Regions from separate parts of the Homo sapiens genome. Here region 2 is linked to region 1. Evidence: promoter capture Hi-C in 16 types of primary human blood cells and fetal thymus (Javierre and others, 2016). All regions are on one chromosome and are shown on one strand. The core of a region is centred on a gene start or on the middle of the fragment in contact, and the rest is flanking DNA. Distances in the headings are between cores, read along the strand shown.

Region 1 (3,872 bases), core at 739-3,238:
TTGAACTAAGCCCAGTAAAAGTTTTTTAATAAAGCTGTTATGATAAATTTAAATAGCTCTAACATTTTATTTGATCAACAAATTTATATAGAGTATGCATTAGTTGGTTATGATAGATTCTAGGTCTAATCTTTCAAGAAAAAGAGAAAGGAACATGGAAACATGAAAAAGAATAGACCAAAATAAGACATCCAGCTCATATCTTAACCTGAAGTATTATTTCCAAATATGTTGAGAAATTGTCTCGTCCTTCTGGTACTGGTATTTAGAATAGAGTAACAGCATCTGACAGCCTCGCTAATATCTGAATTTATTATGATGTGAAGTTTCCAAGTCTTTATGAATTTTTCGTAATTACACTATTAAATGTTTTAAAAGTGGTAGTGATTAAAGACTGAATTTAAGTTGTGTTTAATGCCTCATCAGTCAGTACCTTTGATATATTTCAAGATCAAGCAGGAATTTCTAATACAGCATCTGATGTCATATAGAAATGAGATACAAAACAATAAAACACAAAGGCCGAGAGACTGGAGGAGGAAATCCAAACTCATCAGCATTTTACTTACTCTGGCTTGACACAGTCAGTAAAATGCTTTGAAAGCCATCCTGGGGAAAAGACAAATTCTGAGTGGAACAATGAGATTTCAGTAGCATGGAGAAATTGATGAGATGGCTGAAATCCACTGAATGTGAAATCTCACTGAGCCAATGCTCCTTAGACATACTGTGAGAGGAATTCACCGCTGCGTCCCCAAGAGACATTGTCACATGTGTGGTTGAGCCTGGAGGAATATATATATGTTTTCGCGCTACACATTGATATTCAAACATAGAATTAAATATCTTACACTTATCTTAAACTTTAAAAAGATCAGAGCAATTAGGCTGGGTGCAGTGGCTCACACCTGTAACCCCAGCACTCTGGGAGGCTGAGGCGGGTGGATCATGAGGTCAGGAGTTCGAGACCAGCCTGACCAACATGGTGAAACTCCGTCTCTACTAAAAATAAAAAATTAGCTGGAAGAATCGCTTGAACCCAGGAGGCGGAGGTTACAGTGTGCCGAGATCTCACCACTGCACTCCAGCCTTGGCAACAGAGCGAGACTCTGTCTCAAACAAACAAACAAACAAAAAAAGATCAGAGCAATTATGTATGGATCTGAAACCATAAGAAAGATTTTCTATCTTGTTGCTTACTTCGTATTATGATTTATTTACCTGGACTTTCAACAGTACCACCCTCCCCACCTTCTAGAATAGTACATATATATCATGATAAAATATGTGGGTATGTCCTTTGAAAAATCACTCAAAATAACTTGTTTTGTTGTCTTTTGGAGTAATTGTTTACATGGAAGAGTTTTTTAATAAATAAAGTGTTATGTCTTAAAAAAAGATTAGGGGTCTATAAACAATGAATAAATTAGAAATAATCATGCACTGTGTAGACAAGCAGGGTATACAGAATTAAATAGGTCATTGCACACAAAATAAGGCAATGAGATTTCCAATGTCAAATAATTGCTTTGTTTCCACAGAAGAAACTATGGAGTCAAGATACTTCGGTCCAAATCCCAGCTTCTCCTCTTCCTATTGCTGTGACTATAAGACTGTCTGCCTTAGCTTTCACATCTAAAGAGTAGAAATAATAACAGTACCACCCAGCTCATATATTGAAGGCTATTGAATCACTTACAATACATCAGCTATTGGAACAGTGTATTAAAAAACATTTAGCAAACAACTTTTAGTACTATCATTTACAGAGACCAGATTCAGAAAGAAAGTAGCTATATCGACTAAACCTTCATTTCTTTTTCAGCACATTTGCAGCAAAATATGTGGCAAATGTAAGAAAATATGAAGACATTCTCTAAGTCAAAAGAACATCTCTATTATACTATGCCACAGTTATCATTTCTTATTCCAAGACATACCATTTTTTTCCTTCAAATTTCCCTAGTGCCCTCCAGCTGATATAAACATGAGCCCTGAGAACCAGAGCAGCGTGTCCGAGTTCCTCCTCCTGGGCCTCCCCATCCGGCCAGAGCAGCAGGCCGTGTTCTTCGCCCTGTTCCTGGGCATGTACCTGACCACGGTGCTGGGGAACCTGCTCATCATGCTGCTCATCCAGCTAGACTCTCACCTTCACACCCCCATGTACTTCTTCCTTAGCCACTTGGCCCTCACTGACATCTCCTTTTCATCTGTCACTGTCCCTAAGATGCTGATGAACATGCAGACTCAGCACCTAGCCGTCTTTTACAAGGGATGCATTTCACAGACATATTTTTTCATATTTTTTGCTGACTTAGACAGTTTCCTTATCACTTCAATGGCATATGACAGGTATGTGGCCATCTGTCATCCTCTACATTATGCCACCATCATGACTCAGAGCCAGTGTGTCATGCTGGTGGCTGGGTCCTGGGTCATCGCTTGTGCGTGTGCTCTTTTGCATACCCTCCTCCTGGCCCAGCTTTCCTTCTGTGCTGACCACATCATCCCTCACTACTTCTGTGACCTTGGTGCCCTGCTCAAGTTGTCCTGCTCAGACACCTCCCTCAATCAGTTAGCAATCTTTACAGCAGCATTGACAGCCATTATGCTTCCATTCCTGTGCATCCTGGTTTCTTATGGTCACATTGGGGTCACCATCCTCCAGATTCCCTCTACCAAGGGCATATGCAAAGCCTTGTCCACTTGTGGATCCCACCTCTCAGTGGTGACTATCTATTATCGGACAATTATTGGTCTCTATTTTCTTCCCCCATCCAGCAACACCAATGACAAGAACATAATTGCTTCAGTGATATACACAGCAGTCACTCCCATGTTGAACCCATTCATTTACAGTCTGAGAAATAAAGACATTAAGGGAGCCCTAAGAAAACTCTTGAGTAGGTCAGGCGCAGTGGCTCATGCCTGTAATCTCAACACTTTGGGAGGCTGAGGCAGACGGATCACCTGAGATCAGGAGTTCGAGACCAGCCTGGCCAACATGGCGAAACCCAGTCTCTACTAAAAATACAAAAAAATTAGCCGGGCATGGTGGTGCATGCCTATAGTCCCAGCTACTCGGGAGACTGAGGCAGAAGAATCACTTGAACCCAGGAGGCGGAGGTTGCAGTGAGCCAAGATCGTGCCACTGCACTCCAGCCTGGGTGACAGAGCAAGACTCTGTCAAAAAAAAGAAAAAAGAAAAAAAAATTATTGAGTAAAAAAAAACCATTATTCTAACTGATATTTACCTTTCTTTTAAAACATCCCATGTAATATTTTTCCTCAATAATACAGAAATACAAATTATTGAAAATATAGCTCACTTGTCTTTCTTCCACAGCTGTCACTCTGAAATGCTTTCCTGATATTATTATTGCATCTGTTTGAGGGAATAGTAAAATAGGATATGTTGTATAGGACTTTGTTTGCTCTTTTCTTGGGTAATGGAATTGGAAAATATTCTGAGCATGTTATGTCACTTTGGCTGGTATGAAAAGGAAGCCATCAGGGCTGACCTTTCCCAGATTTTAAATTTGTTATAAAATGTGTCTGGCCCTTCACACCTCTATTTCTTAGGAATTTTCCACTTTTGTGAAGATATGGCTCCTCTTTCGCCCAGGCACCAGATATCCAGGAAGCTGAAGCCCTTTCAGAAATTTTAAGAAAAACATATGACATTTCTCACTCCTTACATAATAATTAACACACTGCTGTCTTGTCCTTCCAGAATATAGCCCACACTTCCTTTCTCCCCAAACACATACAGATGTTCAGTGACAAAATAAATGTCACCTCAGTTCTCTCAGGGACTGATCTAAGAACTTAATATACCTTAAAATCATCTAACTTAATTCTGACAAAAACTC
Region 2 (3,872 bases), core at 682-3,181, 75 kb before region 1:
TTCATTGCAAAAAGAAAACCATTGTTAAGCTTTGTGACTTCTCATAATATCAGTTTCCACCAGATTGCTTTGCATCAAATTATTGCCCTAAAAATTTCCAGCATGCTTGATTTATCATTTTTGATTCTAGAATATTTTATGAAAGAATTCAGAGAACGGATGGTGTAGTTAGTACAAATCTGGCACTAGTAGGTGTACAACAAATATTGATTACTTTTAATCTATTTACTACAACAGAAGAGTGCTTTTAAGTTAAAGAAATGAAATAGTAAGGAATACCATAACATATATTAATTCTTTTTCTCCTATTGTTATCATTCAATATTAACCTTAGATGTACACTCACACCTTCCTTGTCATGATCCTCACAAAGTGGTAAAATAGAAAGGGAGTCGATAGGCATAAATTGACTTGTTAAGTTATTTAGCATCCTAATTCACAGTTTTCACAATTCTACCTAAAGTAACTGATGTAAGGAATAATGAGGAACATTGTGGATAGTCAATAAATGTTTCTATTCTCCTTCCTTCACCTCATCCCATGCCTGCCTTGCTGGGGTAGAATTGCTCAGCTCCAGAGCCTCATAACAAATGCCTTGTTCACTATGGCTAATATGCTGGTTTTAGAGATGTGAGGAGGAATAGTAGTTTTGCTGTTAGTAATGGTTGCCTCACTGGGGTCAGGAAAGAGGCTGAGACAGAACATCTCATTCCACAGCCTAATAAAAGAATGAAACACTCTTTTTTTTTTTTTTACATCCCTAACTCAGAGTCAACGGATAACCTTCCCCTAATATCAACATGACAGTAGTAGAATTACTGAAGTGATGGAAGACAGGGAGGGGTTGATCAAGATTAGACATCACCGTCTAGATGTCTAATCATAAAAAGAATGTTTTTCCACTGACAAAAAGTTTACCCAAAGCCTCCTTCATGTCTCTGTTCCTCAAGCTATAAATGAATGGGTTTAGCGTGGGAATAATCACCATATAGAGAACAGCAGCCCTACTTTCCCTCTCTGTAGAGTAAGTTGATGGAGGAAGTAAATACACACCCATAAGAGACCCATAGAAGAGCAGAACCACCGTGAGATGAGAACCACAGGTAGAGAAGGCCTTCCATCTCCCTCCAGGAGATGAGATGACAAACACAGCCCAGAAAATGCGGACATAGGAGAAGACGATCAGCAGGAGGGGAACAGTGAGGAACAGCAAGCCCATGGTGATGATCATCAGCTCGTTTACATGGGTATCTGAGCAGGCAAGCTTCAGGAGAGCACTAGGATCACAATAGAAATGAGGGATGGCTTTCTGGGCACAGAAAGCCACGCGGGTCAGCAACAGTGTGTGCATCAGGGCAGGACAGTTGGTTAGCACCCAGCACACACCCAGCATTAGTGCACAGAGCTGGGGACTCATAGATGTGCTGTAATGGAGTGGTTGGCAGATGGCCACATAGCGGTCATATGCCATCACAGCCAGCAGGCAGTTGTCAAGGCCACCAAACATAAGGAGGAAATATAGCTGTGCAAGACACCCAGAATACGAGATGATCTGACTCTGGGTATGAATGTTGGCCAGCATTTTGGGGATGGAGGCAGAAGTGAAACAGGCATCAGTTAATGACAGGTTGGCCAGAAAGAAGTACATGGGAGTATGGAGGTGTGGGTCAGAGCTGATGGCCAGGATAATGAGCAGGTTCCCCACCATGGTGACCAGGTACATGCCAAGGAAGATGCCAAACAGAAGAGGCTGCTCCTCTGGCCACTCAGAGAGTCCTAGAAGGAGGAAGTCTGAAACAGTGGTTTGGTTCACTCTGCCTGGTTTTCCCATCCCTTGTAGTTCGTGTGATCTGCGCAGATAAAAACCTTCCATGTGTCAGTATTTATTTATTAGATCAATTTACAGATATGCATCTGTGTGGCCAGAACTGTGCTGGGAGAAAAAGAAAAGAAAAATAAATGGTCTTTGCCAATAAGAATCTCTGAATCTCACTGGGAATGCAAGGAAATACCCAAGAGACATTTAGAGAACAGTTAAGATAATATCCATTCAAATCTCAATTGTGCTTTGTATGCTATAGCAGAATCCAAAGAAAAGAGATTTGTTTGACCAGAGAAATTGGCATGGGCTATTTAGAGGAAGTGAGAATTGAGAATAGCTTGATGGCAAGATTAGAAAAGCCATTTGTTATTGTCAATTGGAAAGAAGATGCATGATCTCCATCAAACTCCTACCCCTCCTCCAACACACACACACACACACACACACACACACACACACACACACACACACTCAAGCCCTCTTTGTGGGGGCTGAAATTGACTTTTAAGACAAGATAGCTTCCTCCCCACTTGCCTTTCAGTGCTGAGAATTTGACCTCACCCATTCAAACCAGTCCTGTACTCTTTCCTAACTAGCGGCAAAGGATATGTGAGCTGAGGGCAGTAGGTGTCTGGTGTCGTACTCCCCCATCCACTGTTAGGATGTTCCCTCCCACACACACGCATACAAATAGGACAGGGAGCCACTCTCTCCCTTCCATCACTTCCTCTCCTTTATCCCTGTCCTCTTCCCTTTTTTGCTGCTATGCATCTCTATCTGCTCTGGGAACTGATATTTTAGTTCACCTGTGCCTTCACCCCTACATTTGTACTACATTTATCTAATATTTACTTTTAACCAGAGGGAGGGAAGGTGAAAGGTATCGCCCTGACTTTTTGGTTTGAAAATAACCAGTCTGTTTTTTTGCTGCCCTAGTGAGCTGGTAGGAGAAACCATTTCATATTGATCTTGTAGAAGTTTGGCCTTAGAAGCTTTTGTAACTATTTTAGTCCTCCATTTGTTCTTTGGTTCATAGAGAAGCTTCTGACCTTAGGCAGAGACTCAGCACTTTCCCAGGAAACTTTTGCCTGGTCACCTGATCATCGAACTGGGAAGGAAGGTGTATATGTGTGTGTGTGTGAGAGAGAGAGAGAGAGAGAGAGTGTATGTGTGTGTGTGTGTGTATGTGTCCTACCCCTTCCAAATCCTCACCTGTCAGATTATGGATCAGTTTTAGGCATCTTCAAATTCTCCAATTCTCTTCCTTGGATGGATAATTCATAATAAAAAACTCTGAGACCTTTCTGACTCAGAGGCAATAAAGTCGGGGTCTATTGAGTCCAGAGTTTATTAGAAATACCTGAAGTGTATGGCTCGATTTCAGCTTCCCCGGGCATAAGAAGACAGGAATATCTCTTAAGGTTATAAAGGCTCCTAGAACACCATCTCCCAATGTGCTCGTTAAGGTCGACCTCGGTGTCATTGTGCAGCCTGTTCTCCAGCCAACTCTGGCTGGATCCTAGGGGAGCTGAGGACCTCTCTTTCCCAGGGGTTAAGATCTCAAATGTGGGTCTCGGGAATGTGATTCTGAAGCCTCTTGCTGGCAATGCAGTGTACTTCAGCCTGACTAGCAGGTCACCTGGGAACTCCTGCCTATATGCATTAGGCAAGTCAGCACTTGTCCCATGTCCTAGGTAAAACTGCATTGAAGAAGAAATCAGGAGTATAAACTAAAACACAACTATTTCTGCTGGCGATTTCCTTAAAGAGAATAATCCTGATGGAAACAATACCCTCAAAAACTCCAAAACTCAATTAATGAGGCAACCTAAATAAAGCACACCAGCCATAGTGCCTCATACAAAGCAGCTGCTCAAAAAAAGCTACTTATATCTACTGTATTTTAATTAATTCTATTAAGTGGAGAGAGTGGAATCCCCACCTAGGTCTGTAATGACTCTGGAGTACATGCTATTATCCACTATGCTTTGTTCTAGTATCATTGTTGGTTTCAATCATAAGCAATTTCATAGGTCTAAAATAATCCAAC

Evidence for each region. The method cuts DNA at HindIII sites, captures the fragments that hold promoters and counts their contacts. A CHiCAGO score of 5 or more calls a contact.
Region 2: a contact is called between the fragment with the promoter of OR1N2 here and the fragment with the promoter of OR1J1 in region 1, in 1 of 17 cell types (neutrophils). The highest score is 5.6, in neutrophils.

Annotation. Positions count from the first base shown.
Region 1 is chr9:122,476,042-122,479,913 of GRCh38, reverse strand. It overlaps OR1J1 (olfactory receptor family 1 subfamily J member 1), which reads left to right and starts at 1,988. Exons shown (of 1, transcript NM_001004451.1): 1 at 1,988-2,956. The coding sequence starts at 1,988. The coding sequence ends at 2,956. It also overlaps a transcript of OR1J2 not described here. The HindIII fragment of the contact is 5,266 bases long and covers 1-3,872 here.
Region 2 is chr9:122,551,171-122,555,042 of GRCh38, reverse strand. It overlaps OR1N2 (olfactory receptor family 1 subfamily N member 2), which reads right to left and starts at 1,931. Exons shown (of 1, transcript NM_001004457.2): 1 at 829-1,931. The coding sequence starts at 1,831. The coding sequence ends at 881. It also overlaps a transcript of OR1J2 not described here and a transcript of OR1L8 not described here. The HindIII fragment of the contact is 1,550 bases long and covers 1,267-2,816 here.